Regions from separate parts of the Homo sapiens genome. Here region 2 is linked to region 1. Evidence: promoter capture Hi-C in 16 types of primary human blood cells and fetal thymus (Javierre and others, 2016). All regions are on one chromosome and are shown on one strand. The core of a region is centred on a gene start or on the middle of the fragment in contact, and the rest is flanking DNA. Distances in the headings are between cores, read along the strand shown.

What was found. Contacts are between HindIII fragments. The CHiCAGO score rates a contact against its expected background, and 5 or more counts as called.
Region 2: a contact is called between the fragment with the promoter of ATP4A here and a fragment that was not itself captured in region 1, in 5 of 17 cell types (M2 macrophages, M1 macrophages, neutrophils and 2 more). The highest score is 7.6, in M2 macrophages.

The regions. Positions count from the first base shown.
Region 1 is chr19:35,831,879-35,839,027 of GRCh38, forward strand. NPHS1 (NPHS1 adhesion molecule, nephrin) reads right to left here. Exons shown (of 29, transcript NM_004646.4): 23 at 3,827-3,883. Among named protein-coding and RNA genes, the nearest start is that of NPHS1, 17 kb to the right of the region's middle. The HindIII fragment of the contact is 4,977 bases long and covers 1-3,932 here.
Region 2 is chr19:35,561,145-35,568,350 of GRCh38, forward strand. ATP4A (ATPase H+/K+ transporting subunit alpha) reads right to left here and starts at 2,514. Exons shown (of 22, transcript NM_000704.3): 1 at 2,474-2,514; 2 at 2,240-2,383; 3 at 2,065-2,124; 4 at 1,291-1,494. The coding sequence starts at 2,485. RefSeq lists an enhancer at 3,669-4,170. The HindIII fragment of the contact is 9,853 bases long and covers 1-5,472 here.

The sequences.
Region 1 (7,149 bases), core at 194-2,693:
ATGGGCAGAGGTCTCTGTGCCCACCCTTTCTGCCCACCCAAGGGCAGGTGGCTTCTTTCTTAAGTCAAGCCATTAGCAAAACTTCCTCCGTTTGCTTGAACTCTGCAAACTCAGAACGGAACTCTGGACTCAGGAGGGAGCTTCAGCTCGTTAGCTGGGCACTGAAGACTTTCTGTGGTCCAGCCTCTTCCCACGCCTCCAGCCATGCCCACCAAACTTAGACCCTGGTACTGGACTGTCCAGCCACACAAATCAACCACCAGCTGTTTCCAGAATCACTGAAGCAAATTCACACCTCAGAGCTTTGGAATAGTTAAGTGTCTGTCCTCAAATGTCCTTTCTTCTCAAGCAAACTTCTGTTTGCCTTTCAAATTCTATCTCAAGGTCAGGCGCTGCAGCACATGCCTGTAATCCCAGCATGTTGGGAGGTCAAGGTGGGAGAATCGCTTGAGCCTAGGAGCTCAAGACCAGCCTAGGCAACATAGTGAGGCTGATTCTTTACAAAAAAAATTAAAAATTTAGCAGCATGGTGGTGCATGTCTATAGTCCCAGCTACTCGGGACACTGAAGCAAGAGGATTGCTTGAACCTGGTAAGTCAAGGCTCCAGTGAGCTATGATAGCACCACTGCACTCCAGCCTGGGCAGCAGAGCAAGACCCTGCCTCTGAAAAAAAAATCCCATCTCAAGGACTTCTTTATTTTATTTTGTTTTTTAATTAAGACGGAGTTGGCTGGGCACGGTGGCTCACGCCTATAATCCCAGCACTCTGGGAGGCTGAGGGGTTGGATCACAAGGTCAGGAGTTCAAAACCAGCCTGGCCGATATGGTAAAACCCTGTCTCTACTAAAATACAAAAAATTAGCTGGGTGTGGTGGCAGGCACCTGTAGTCCCAGTTACTTGGGAGGCTGAGGCAGGGGAATCACTTGAACTGGGGAGGCAGAGGTTGCAGTGAGCCGAGATCACGCTACTGCACTCCAGCCTGGGTGACAGAATGAGACCCTGTCTCAAAAAAAAAAAAAAAAAAAAAAGAGTCTCACTCTTTCACCCAGGCTGGAGTGCAGTGGCATGATCTTGGCTCACTGCAACCTCCACCTGCAGGGTTCAAGCGATTCTTCTCCCTCAGCCTCCCAAGTAGCTGGGATTACAGGCGCATGCCACCACACCCGGCTAATTTTTTTTTTTTTTGTATTTTTAATAGAGACGGAGTTTCGCCATGTTGGACAGGCTGTTCTTGAACTCCTGGCTTCAAGTGGTCTGCCCACCTTGGCGTCCCAAAGTGCTGGCATTATAGGCGCGAGCCACCGTGCCCAGCCTCAAATGACTTCTTTCCACCAACTTCCATCCCAGCCAATATCAGGCTGACTTGGCTGCTATATCCCTGAGGACAAGGCTGAACCCCTCTAAGTAGGCATCTGTTGGGCGGGCAATCTCCCCTGTCTTCTACTAATAGCACTTTTTTCCCCTGGGGAGAACAGCCACTCCCCAATCTCAGTCTTGGGTTCAGGCAGGACTCCACAGTGGGCACATGGCCCGGCCTGGAAAATAAGAGTCTCCATTCCTCTCTCCACAGTGATTGTTTAGACACAGGCATTTGACCCAACGTGTGTTTTTAACAAAACATTTAGGACAATTCTACTAGCTGTCAAGAAGATGGAGGTGGAGGAGGGCTTCTCTGCCCCTCTGATTGAAGAAACTCAGAAAGAAGCCACCACAGATGAAGGCAAAGTTGAGAGAGGGTGAGAAACAGATCGCTGGTGAGATTTTTGAGCACCTGAAAGTGGCCACACTTGGAATTTTTTATTTCATATACCAAGACTTTTTCTTTTTTTTCTTGAGACAGGGTCTCAACTCTGTTGCCCAGGCTGCAGTGCAGTGGCGTGAGCTCGGCTCATTGAAGGCTCAACCTCCTGGGCTCAATCAATCCTCCCGCATCAGCCTCCTGAGTAGCTGGGACTGCAGGCATGCACTGCCATGCCTGGCTAATTTTTTTTGTTTTTGTTTTATAGAGATGGGGTTTCACCATGTTGCCCAGGTTTGTCTCCAACGTCTGGGCTCAAGTGATCTACCTGCCTCAGCCTCCCAAAGTTCCGGGATTATAGGCATGAGCCACTGTGCCCAGCCAAGCCATTCTTTTTCGTGTTGACAAAACAGCTGCATTTCTGTCACTTGCAACCTTTTTCTCGGGCTCTGAAGGGGATTTTTTTGCCAAATGGTTGCAATCATCTCCCAGTAGTCACATCCTTGAGTGCGGGGCCTTTCCACACTGACTCTGTGTTGAGCCATGTGACTTGCTTTGGCCAATGAGACACAACTATGACGGAATCAGCTAGTAAATTGCTGCTTTTGACCCCCGTGACCACCTCCATGTGAAAAAGTCAAGAAGAGACACGCGCCCAGTTATCTCCATTGTTCCAACCAAGAGCCAGATGACTATCAGAAGTGTGGGAAGGGGGCAACCCTAGACCACCCAGTCCAGTGGAGCTGCCAGCTGACTGCAGAGATGATTTAAGCCAGCCCAGACCAGCACTGTTCCGCCAGACTCAGAATCATGAGGAAGAATGTTGCTATAAGCACCCATGTTTGGGGTGGTTCATTATACAGCAAAAGCTAACTGATGCAGGCTTCTTACAGGACATGGAGTGAGCTAATTCTTACGGAATTAAACTAAATTTGGAAGAGAAGAAAATTTATCACTCCAGGCAAGAGGAAGATCTAAGAAAAAAAAAATTGGCCAGATGCAGTGGCTCACGCCTGTAATCCCAGCACTTTGGGAGGCTGAGGTGGGTGAATCATGAGGTCAGGAGTTAAAGACCATCCTGGCTAACGCGGTGAAACCTCATCTCTACTAAAAATACAAAAAATTAGCTGGGCGTGTTGGCACGTGCCTGTAGTCCCAGCTACTCGGGAGGCTGAGGCAGGAGAGGAAGCCGGGAGGTGGAGATAGCAGTCAGCCGAGATCGCACCACTGCACTCCAGCCTGGGCAACAAACAGAGCAAGAATCCATCTCAAAAAATAAAAAAATAAAAAAAAAAAATGCCGAGTGCCGTAGCTCATGCCTGTTATCCCAGCACTTTGGGAAGCTGAGGCAGGCAGATCACTTGAGGTCGGGAGTTCGAGACCAGCCTGGCCAACATGGTGAAACCCCGTCCCTACTAAAAAAGTACAACAATTAGCCAGGTGTGGTGGCAGGTGCCTGTAATCCCAGCAACTCGGGAGGCTAAGGCAAAAGAATCGCTTGAACCTGGGAGGTGGAGGTTGCAGTGAGCCAAGATTTTGCCACTTCACTCCAGCCTGGGCAACAGAATGAGACTCTGTCTCAAAAAAAAAAAAAAAAAAAAGAAAGAAAGAAAGAAAAAAGAGGAAGCTCTAAGGAGTCTGCAAGTCTGCAATTCTGCAGGGACAGAACTAAGTCTTTTTTTTTTTTTTTTTTTTTTTTGAGATAGGGTCTCCCTCTGTTGCCAAGGCTGGAGTGCAGTGGCTCAGTCATAGCTCACTGCATCCTCCAACTCCTGGGCTTATGCAATCCTCCCACCTCAGCCTTCTGAGTAGTTGGGACTACAGGCACATGCCACTACACCCAGCTATTTTTTATTTTTGCAAAGATGGAGTCTTGCTATGTTGCCCAAGCTGGTCTCAAACTCCTGGGCTCAAGTGATCACATGCCTTGGCCTCCCAAAGTGTTGGGATTACAGGCGTGAGCGACTGAGCTTGGCCAGAACTAAGTCGTTAAGCAGCTGTGACTACAAGCAGAGGAGGTAGGGTCAGAGACCAGGAGGTTCCATTCTCAGGGGAGCCGGGAGGGATCAGGGGACTGAGGACTTGCCTGAAGGTGGCTCTGTGGGCAGCTGGTCTTCAGGTTCTCCAGAAGGCTGGTGGAGACCTGGGGGGTGGATATACAGATTGTGACTTAACACTAAGAATCTGAGATAAGCTTTAAATATTTCTCAGCCTCTTCTTAAGCCTATTAGATTCATGGGAACTGGTATATGACTGCTTAAGAATATTTCAAAGAGAGCTAGAAATTGCTGATAATAATGACAATACTATTAATAGCAATTCTAATGGTAACGCTAATGCTAAGAATAATTTGTTTTTTGAGACTGAACCTCTCTCTATTGCCCAGGCTGGAGTGCAGTGGCGCAATCTCAGCTCACTGAAACCTCTGCCTCCCGGGTTCAAGCAATTCTCCTGCCTCAGCCTCCCAAGTAGCTGGGACTACAGGCACCTGCCACTATGCCTGGCTAATTTTTTGTATTTTTAGTAGAGATGGGGTTTCACCATGTTGGCCAGGCTAGTCTCGAACTCCTGACCTCGTGATTCGCCCACCTCGGCCTTCCAGAGTGCTGGGATTACAGGCGTGAGCCACTGCGCCTGGCCATTTTTTTTTTTTTAAAGAGACAGGGTCTCACTCTGTCGCTCAGGCTGGAGTGCAGTGGTATGATCATAGCTCACTGCAGCCTCGACCTCCTGGGTTCAAGCTATCCTCCCGCCTCAGACTCCTGATTAGCTGGGACTACAGGCATGCATCACCATGCCTGGCCCAAAAATTAACTGTTGATGAGCACTTTCGGTGTGCAAGGTCCTTTTCACCCGAATTATCAATTTGTTGAGTTAACCAAAAAAGACTTTGGGCTCTCGATCCCTTAATAAAGGTACAAGTTCTAAAGCAAAGGAGGCAAGTGTCATACTTTATGTTTTAGTGTTCAAAGGGAAGACTGGAGTGGGGTGGGGGGAAGAGCAGAGAAGATTGTAGGGGTGAAAAAGTGTCCTTACTTCCATTGAGAAAAAGCCTGCTCTGTCAGGAAGAGGAAAACAGAAAGGAGAAGCTTGCGGCCAGGAGTGGTGGCACACGTCTGTAATCCCAGCACTTTGAGAGACTGAGGCAGGTGGATCACCTGAGGTTAGGACTTTGAGACCAGCCTGGCCAACATGGTGAAACCCTGTCTCTACTAAAAAATACAAAAATTAGCCAGGCGTGGTGGTATGCACCTGTAATCCCAGCTACTTGGAAGGCTAAGGCAGGAGAATTGCTTGAACCTGGGAGGCAGAGGTTGCAGTGAGCCGAGATCATGCCACTGTACTCCAGCCTGAGTGACAGAGCAAGATTCCATTGCAAAAAAAAAAAAAAAGAAAGAAAAGAAAAGAAAAGAAAGAAAGAAAGAAAGAAAGAAAGAAAGAAAGAAAGAAAGAAAAATAAACTGAGCCACAAAGATCTGTGCTATATATTTTTAGAAACTGAGACACTTGCCTATGGTCACACAACTAAGAGGTAGCAGAGAGGGGATTTGAACCCAAGCTTCTCTGGACCAGGCTCTGAAGGATTTACCACTACAATACTGTGCCTATCAGAATTGTAACATATTCATCATATTCAAGGAATTTGTCCTTCTCATCCAACTTGCTGAATTTATTGGAATAAAGTTATCCATAATATTCCCTAATTATCCTCTTAATGTCTGTGGAGTCTGTGGTAACATCCCTTCTTCCATTCCTGTTATTGGTAACTTGTATTTTCTCCCTTTTATTTGTCTTAATCAGATTTATAAATGTTATTGATTTTTTTCAAATAACCAGCTTCTGGTTTCATTGATTTTCTCAATTGTTTTTCTGTTTTCTAATTCATTCATTTCTGCTCTTACCATTATTATTTTCTTCTTTCTGTTTACTTTGGGTTTAATTTGTTCGTCTTTTATTAGCTTCTTTCTTTCTCTCTCTCTCTCTCTCTCTCTTTCTTTCTTTAGATGGAGTTTTGCTCTTGTTGCCCAGGCTGGAGTACAATGGCACCATCTCTGCTCACTGCAACCTCTGCCTCCCAGGTTCAAGTGATTCTCTTGCCTCAGCCTCCCAAGTAACTGGGATTACAGGCATGTGCCACCACACCCGGCTAATTTTGTATTTTCAGTAGAGACAGGGTTTTTCCATGTTGGTCAGGCTGGTCTCAAACTCCCGACCTCAAGTAATACACCCGCCTTGGCCTCTCAAAGTGCTGGGATTACAGGCATGAGCCACAGTTTCTTAAGATGAAAACTTAGAATATGCATTTGAGGTTATTCTCTTAAAAAAAAAAAAAAAAAAAAAACGAAAACTAGTCCAGTCGTGGTGGCTCACACCTGTAATCCCAACACTTTGGGAGACCGAAGCTGGTGGATCACCTGAGGTCAGGAGTTCGAGATCAGCCTGGACAACATGGTGAAACCCTGTCTCTACTAAAAAATACAAAAAATTACAGGTGCATGCCTGTAATCCCAGCTACTTGGGAGGCTGAGGCAGGAAAATTGCTCAAACCCAGGAGGCGGGGGTTGCAGTGAGCCGAGACGGCACCATTGCACTCCACCCTGGGCAACAAGAACAAAACTGCGTCTCAGAACAAAAACAAACAAACAAAAAGTGGCCAAGCGTGGTGGCTCACACCTGTAATCTCAGCATTTTGGGAGGCCAAGGCAGGTGGATCACCTGAGGTCAGGAGTTCAAGACCAGCCTGGCCAACATGGCGAAACCCCGTCTCTACTAAAAATACTAAAATTAGCTGGGCATGGTGGCACTTGCCTGTAATCCCAGCTACTTAGGAGGCTGAGGCAGGAGAATCGCTTGAACCCGGGAGGCGGAGGTTGTAGTGAGCCAAGATCATGCCACTGCACTCCAGCCTGGGTGGCAGAGTGAGACTCCATCTCAAAAATAAAAAATAAGGCCGCGCATGGTGGCTCAGGCCTATGATTCTAGCACTTTGGGAGGCCAAGGTGAGTGGATCACAAGGTCAGGTGTTCGAGACCAGCCTGACCAACATGGTGAAACCCCGTCTCTATTAAGAATACAAAATTAGCTGGGGGTGGTGGCACATGCCTGTAATCCCAGTTACTCAGAAGACTGAGTCAAGAGAATTGCTTGAACCCAGGAGATGAAGGTTGCAGTGAGCCAAGATCACACCATTGCACTCCAGCCTGGGCAACAAGAGTGAAACTCCATCTCAAAAAAATAAAAAAAAATTAAATAATTAAATAAAATAAAAAACTAAAATAAGCACTTAATGCTATAAATTTCCCTCTAAGTACTGCTTTAACTGCAACCTCAAATTTTTATATGTTTTCATTTTCATTTAATTCAAACTATTTTCTAATTTCCCTTGGTCATTAATCACATTCAGATAGT
Region 2 (7,206 bases), core at 1,264-3,763, 270 kb before region 1:
TGTTTCTGTGTATATTTCATATCCTCTGGCCCTGAATCCTCAATCTTCCATGTCCCCATATCTGTGACTTGTGCCCCAAATCACTGTGTGCCTTGGTCTGACGTGTTCCCTTCTCCTGTGTCCCCAAGCCTTGCATTCCCCATGTCCACTGTCCCATGTCTCCTCCTGTCCCCATGGCCTGTATTCCCCGTGTCTCCAGTTTCACATCCTGGGTTTTCCATAATCTGCTGCCACCCTCTGTGTGTCCCCTGGGCCCCCTTGTCCCTGCATCCTCACATCCCCGTCCCTGCGTGTGCTGCAGACCTTGTACGTCATGGTCTGTGTCCTCTGTGGCCACGGCCCCCATGTTCTAGCTCCCCAGTCACTGTGTCCCGTGTCTCCCATGTCTGTGTATCTCCGAGTTCCCATCCTGTGTCCCATGGCCATGACTTTTCGAGCCTCTGTCCCATGTCACATGTCCCTGAGTCCCCATGTCCCTTGCCCTCATCTCTGCCATATGTCCAATGTCCCTTGCCCTGCACCTCCATTTCCTCTCTGTCTCTGTGCTTCTATGTCTCATGTTTTGTGTCTCTCTATGTGCTGTGTCCTGAGGCTTGGGTCCCTGCCCTGGTGTCCTATGTCTGAGTCCCAGGGTCTCCTATTCCCCGTGCCTCAGTCTGTCCTGTGTCTGCACTGCATGTCCTCTGCTTCCAAGTCCCATCTCTTTTTTTTTTTTTTTTTTTTTTTTTTAAGATGCAGTCTCGCTCTGTCGCCCAGGCTGGAGTGCAGTGGCATGGTCTTGGCTCACTGCAACATCCACCTCCTGGGTTCAAATGATTCTCCTGCCTCAGCCTCCCAAGTAACTGGGATTACAGGTGCCCGCCACCATGTCTGGCTAATTTTTGTAATTTTAGTAGAGATGGGGTTTTGCCATGTTGGCCAGGCTGGTCTCGAACTCCTGACCTCAGGTGATCTGCCCGCCTCGGCCTCCCAAAGTGCTGGGATTACAGGCATGGGATTACACGCCCGGCCTCCAAATCCCATCTCTTACGTATCACATTGCCATACTCTTTATGCCCCCACCTATGTCCCCATACCCAAGATTCACCCCAGTGTCCCTGTGTCCTGTGTCCTTGGGTCTGCCCCATCCATATCCCAATGTCCTTCACCCTCCATGACCCCTGTCTTGAGACTGCCTTTCGTGTTCGTCTATCCCCATCCTTCTCTGCCCCTCTTGTCCCAAGTCCCAGGCTCAGTGTCTTCCATCCCCAGGTCCCCATGTCCTGAGCCTGTCCCCACAACATGGCTCACATTGTCGTCGGTGGTGAGGTCCCCCTCACTAGCCTGGATGGCAAAGGCGATGAGGCAGATGGCGGCGGCAACCCACATGAGGCACTGCAGGCCCCCGGCCAGCTGCCTCGCGAACTTGACGTACTCTGGGGTGCCCCGTGGTGGCCGCAGTGCGTTGGGCCCATCCCGCAGCAGCAGCTCAGCAGCCAGGCTCGCAGAGAGGCCCTGGGACAGAGGGGCAGGGCGAGGCGGTCCTGGGGGCTTTCCTCCACATGCACACCCCGTGGAAAGCCCCCTGCTTCAGTTTCCCTTCTCCAGCTTGGTCTGTCCTGCTCCTTCTCATCTCTTTGTCTCTTGGTTCCTGCCCCCACCCCATCTCTCCCTCCCTCCTTCATCTCTCCCTTTGTCTCTCTCTCCTCGCTCCCCTTTCTATGTGTCTCTCTCCTGCTGCTCTCTCCTTATTTGTCTCTGCCTTCTCTGTCTTGCTGTCTCTTTTCAGCTACTCCTCTCTCCGTCTCTGTGTGTCACCCTTTCTCTCTAATGCTTTCTCCCTTCTCTCCCTCTCCCTCTCTCTCCCTCTCTCCATCTCCCTCCCTCTCTCCTCCCCTCCCTCCATCCTTTCCTCTCTCCCTCCCTCCCTCTTTCCTTTTCTGCCTCCCTCCCTCTCTCTATTTCTCCATATCTTCCTCTCTTCATCTCTCCCTCTCTCTCCCTCTCTCCATCTCCCTCCTTCCATCTCCCTCTCCCTCCCTCTCTCCTCCTCCCCTTTCTGTACGCTCCCAGTCTCCAGCTCACCTTGGTGGCACTGGTCTGGTATTTCTGTTCCAGCTCCGCCACTGACAGCTGGTGGTCGTTCTGTGTGGTGGGGTGGGGCAGGGTGCTTGCTCTGGGCTCTCCTGGCCCCCTCCCCGCCCACTGCCTGGTTCCCAGCCTACCCTCCAGCTCCCGCCCCTCCCCAGTCAGAGCTCACAATCTCCATCTCCTTCTTCATGTTCTCCAGCTTCTCCTTCCTCTTGCCACCCCCGCCACCCGCCTTCTTCTTCTTGCTCATCTTGGCAGCCATGTCCCCGCCAGGGCCAGGACCCAGCTCCACCGAGTAGAGCTCATAGTTCTCCTGGGAATGGACAGGATGGAGGGAGGGAGAACTCAGATTCCACTGCAACCCCTGTCCCCACTGCACCCCGGACCCCTGGGCCCCACTCACGGCCTTCCCCATGGTGCCCGGTGCCTGTGCTCCCACCCAACAGAGCCTGGGCCCGGACCAGTCCTGATATACCCAGGGAGGGCGGTGGGGTGGAGCAGAACCGCCCGACCACAGCTGATTACAGGCTCCTTGGGGTGACCTCTAGGCCTGGGCACCTCAGGCATTCCCTCCTGGGCTGGCCCCCCCCTCCCCTGCCCAGATCCCCCCATGTCAACCTGCCCTGAGATCAGGGAGCCCCTGGGAACCGCTGCAGCAACAAGAAGAGCAAACATAAGGTGCTCATTATGCGCTGGGCATTGTGCTGACGGCTTCCATGTGCTAACTTATTTAACCTTCCAATAACCCTTTGAGGGGACAAGACCCTTTACAGATGGGGAAACTGAGGCATGGAGGGGTTGAGTCATTCTCCTATGGCTCCATCACAGGCTAGGACATAATGGAGTGAGAACCAGATCAGCTGGCTGCAGAGTGTCCTCTTTCAGTCTAAATAGCACGTGCCTGATCAACTGGAAGAGGAGGGTGCTCCCACACTCTTTTTTTTTTTCTTTTTTTTTTTGAGATGGAGTGTCACTCTGACACCCAGGTTGGAGTGCAGTGGTGCAATCTCAGCTCGCTGCAACCTCCGCCTCCCGGGTTCAAGTGATTCTCCTGCCTCAGCCTCTTGAGTAGCTGGGACTACAGGCACATGCCACCACACCCAGCTAATTTTTGTACTTTTAGTAGAGACGGGGTTTCACCAGGTTGGCCAGGCTGGTCTCGAACTCCTGACCTCAGGTGATCCACCCGCCTTGGCCTCCCAAAGTGCTGGGATTACAGGCGTGAGCCACCATGCCCTGCCATGCTTACAACACTCTCTATGGTGGCTGAATGTTTACTGAACTCTGACTATTCACTATGGGCTGGGTGTGCTCTGTGTGTCACTCAAATGGTTTCCTTAGCATCTAACAGCAGCCCTGTAAAGCAATATTCTCTTCTTAGCCCCCATCAGGGACTTTGCAGAAGATTTCAACGTCTAAGAATTAGGGACAGGGTTCCAGCCCGGGCTTGACCCCAGGGCTTGACCCCAGAGCCTAGCTCTTCTATGGCACCACCAATGGAAAAACCCAAACTTCACTGCAGCAGCACCACACACATGCCAGGCTCTGCACGTGTGACCTCACGGGTCTTTGCAAAAAACCCTGTGCAGGCAGAACTATCATTCCTGTTGTGCAGAGGGGGAAACTGAGGCTCACAGGGACTCACATATCCAGCTACAGACTTTACAGCTCTCAACCATTCCCCGTCCCTACCCTAGATGGGGAAACCAAGGTGCAACATGGGGAAAGGATGTGTCCAAGGGTCTTGGCTTGATCTTGGTGTTGGGTGACAGATGCCAGGAGGCCTGGGGACTCCCTCCTCATCCCTCAGGTAGGGACCTCCATGGGCAGCAGCAGCGAGGGGCTGGGCCAGTGGAATGGTGGGGACCTTGGTATGTTATGGGGTGAGCGTGTCTCCAGGAGCAGGTGAGCGTGCGCCTGATAAGATAACTGCCCTGGCAATGTCCTTCTCTACTGGGGCAGGTCACCTGGGAAACTCAAAGCTGTTGGGCAGCCAGAGCTCCTCCCCGCACCCACACGGCTGGTCATCCCCAGCCTGCTAGAAGAAACCTCCAAAGAAGAGGTGGCGTGGGGCCACATGCTGTCCTTGTAGTGAATCTACTCGCTCACTGGGCTCCCATCAGCTCTGAGCCATGTATGTCAAACAGCTTGTGTCACCCCCTGCTTACAACCCTCCAAAGCCTTCCCTTCCCACTCAGAATAAACTCTGCACTCCTTCCTGCAACATCTGGCCCTGGTCACCTGTCCTGCCTCTGTTGCTGCTAGGTTTCCAGGGGCACTGACCTCTCTGCTGCACTTTGCACAGACCAAGGTCGTTCCTGCTTCAGGACCTTGGTACTTACAGTTCCTTCTGCCTGGGCCCCCTTCCTTAGATGTCTGCACTGGCTTTCTCACCTCTTTCAGGTCTCAGCTCAAATGTCACCTCTTCAGAGAGTCCATTCTGTAATACTGCACACTGTGTTCTGTTCCTTTACCCCACTGTATTTACACCTCCTACTCCAACCTGACACTGTGTTTTCTTTTTATTTGTTTGGTGTTCATTAGAAGGAGGACTGGGCCGGACACTGTGACTCACATCTGTAATCCCAGCACTCTGGAAGGCTGAGGTGGACGGATCATGAGGTCAGGAGTTCGAGACCAGCCTGGTCAACATGGTGAAACCCTGTCTCTACTAAAAATACAAAAATTAGCTGGATGTGGTGGTGTGTGCCTGTAATCCCAGCTACCAGGGAGGCCGAGGCAGGAGAATCACTTGAACCTGGGAGGTGAAAGTTGCAGTGAGCCGAGATCATGCCACTGCACTCCAGCCTGGGTGACAGAGTGAGACTCTGTCTCAAAAAAAAAAAAAAAAAAAAATAGAAAAATAGATAGATAAGAGATGTTAGACAGATAGATGGATACATAAATGATAGATGATTGATAGATTTTTTTTTTTTTTCTTTTTGAGACAGAGTCTTTCTCTGTCGCCCAGGCTGTAGTGCAGTGTCATGATCTCGGCTCACTGCAACCTCTGTCTCCTGGATTCAAGCAATTCTTGTGCCTCAGCCTCCCAAGCAGCTGGGATTACAGGCACCCGCCACCATGCCCAGCTAATTTCTGTATTTTTAGTAGAGACGGGGTTTCACCATGTTGGCCAGGATGGTCTAGAACTCCTGGTCTCAAGTGATCCACCCGCCTTGGCCTCCCAAAGTGCTGGGATTACAGGTGTGAGCCACCATGCCTGGCCAGAATTTTTTAAATTTTTGGCTGAATCATTTGGAAGCAAGTTGGAGACAGGATCCCCTTTATCCATACTTAGGCATGTGTCTTCTATGAATAAGGACATTTTCTTACATAAGCACAGTCTAATAATCAAATTCAGGAAATTAACATTAATAAAACACTAGTAAATAATCTAGAGCAAGCTTGTCCAACCCATGGCCTGCAGGCCATATGTGGCCCAGGACTGCTTTGAATGCTGCCCAATACAAATTCGTAGACTTTCTTAAAACATTATGAGATTTGTTTGCGATTTTTTTTTTTTTTAGCTCATCAGCTATTGATAGTGTTAATGTATTTTATGTGTGACCCAGGACAATTCTTCTTCCAATGTGGCCCAGGGAAGCCAAAAGATTGGACACCCATGATTTGGAGGATTTATTTGAATTTCCCCAGTTTTCCCACTAATGTCCTTTTCCTAGTCCAGGATCCAGTCCGGGACCACACCTCACATTTTGGCTTCCTCCATTGCGTAACAATTCCTCCATCTTTCCTTGTCTTTCATGACCTGGGCGTTTTGGAAGAGTATGATTCAGTGATTTTGTAGACTTCGCTCAGTGTGGCTTTGCTGCTGGTTCTTCGTGATTAAGTTCGGGTTGTGTGCTGGCAGGAACACAGAAGGGATGTGTGTCCCCCCCATCCCCTGCCCCAGAGCATCATCGTGTCAGGCCATGCCCCATTTTGGAGTCTGTAACTTGTCTAGAGCAGGGTGGACATGGTGGGGAGGGGTCTCAAGAGCCTTAGGGAGTGATCAGGAAACCATTCTATGCCCTCTTTAATTTTTACTCAAGACAGTGCCACAGCCAGGGCTGGCACCCAGCTGCCCTGGTAGTTAAAGTAATTGAAAGAAATACAGCCACTGCCTGAGCCCCCAGCACTTCCCCTAAGACTCCAGACCTCCCACACCCAACCCCTTAAAGTGGATGCCTGTGCCAGTCCCAAGGCCTTGTCCTTTTTTTTTTTTTTTTTTTTTGAGACGGAGTCTGGCTCTGTCACCTAGGCTGAAGTGCAGTGGCACGATCTTGGCTTACTGCAACCTCCACCTCCTAGGTTCAAGCGATTCTCCTGCCTCAGCCTCCCAAGTAGCTGGGACTACAGGCACGTACCACCATGCCCAGCTAATTTTTGTATTTTTAGTAGAGATGGGGTTTTGCCATGTTGGCCAGGCTGGTCTCCAACTTCTTACCTCAAGTAATCTGCCCACTTCAGCCTCCCAAAATGCTGGGATAACAGGTGTGAGCCACCACGCCCAGCCACCCTTGTCCATTCTGACCATCCCCTGCTCAGCTAGGTTCATGGGTAAATACTTTTACCTACTCCCCTAATTTTGCAGTCTTCAGATGGTATGCAAGTTGTGTGTTTTTGTGGGGAAGGTCTTTGCTTGGGTCATTTATTATTTTACCGTGTGTCTAAGCAATACTAACCCCTGTCTCTGGGAGGTGAACACTGAGGCCTTAGTCCACAGGCAGGATCTGGATAAGTTGGGAAGTGTTCCAAGTCTTTGGCACCCTGGAATGCAGCCTGGGTGGACCGCACGATGCCATTTCAGGCGGATGGACAACCCCTAGCACAACTCAGGGGCAAAGAAACTTCTCACAAGAATGTTGCAAGTGTGACATGGTCCACAGTAGTGCAAGTTTCTCTGAGCCTGGGGCACACAGAACGTTGGAAACTTTTTTGAGAACAATTAGTGGTCAGAATTGAAAAAAATTTTCTTTTCTTGAGAAAGAGGGGCAGAGGACAGACTATTAAATGGACGGTGGTCCAGGAGCAGTGGCTCATACCTGTAATCCCAGCACTAGGAGGCTGAGGCGGGCATATCACTGGAGGTCAGGAGTTCGAGACCAGCCTGGCCAGCATGGTGAAACCCTGCCTCTA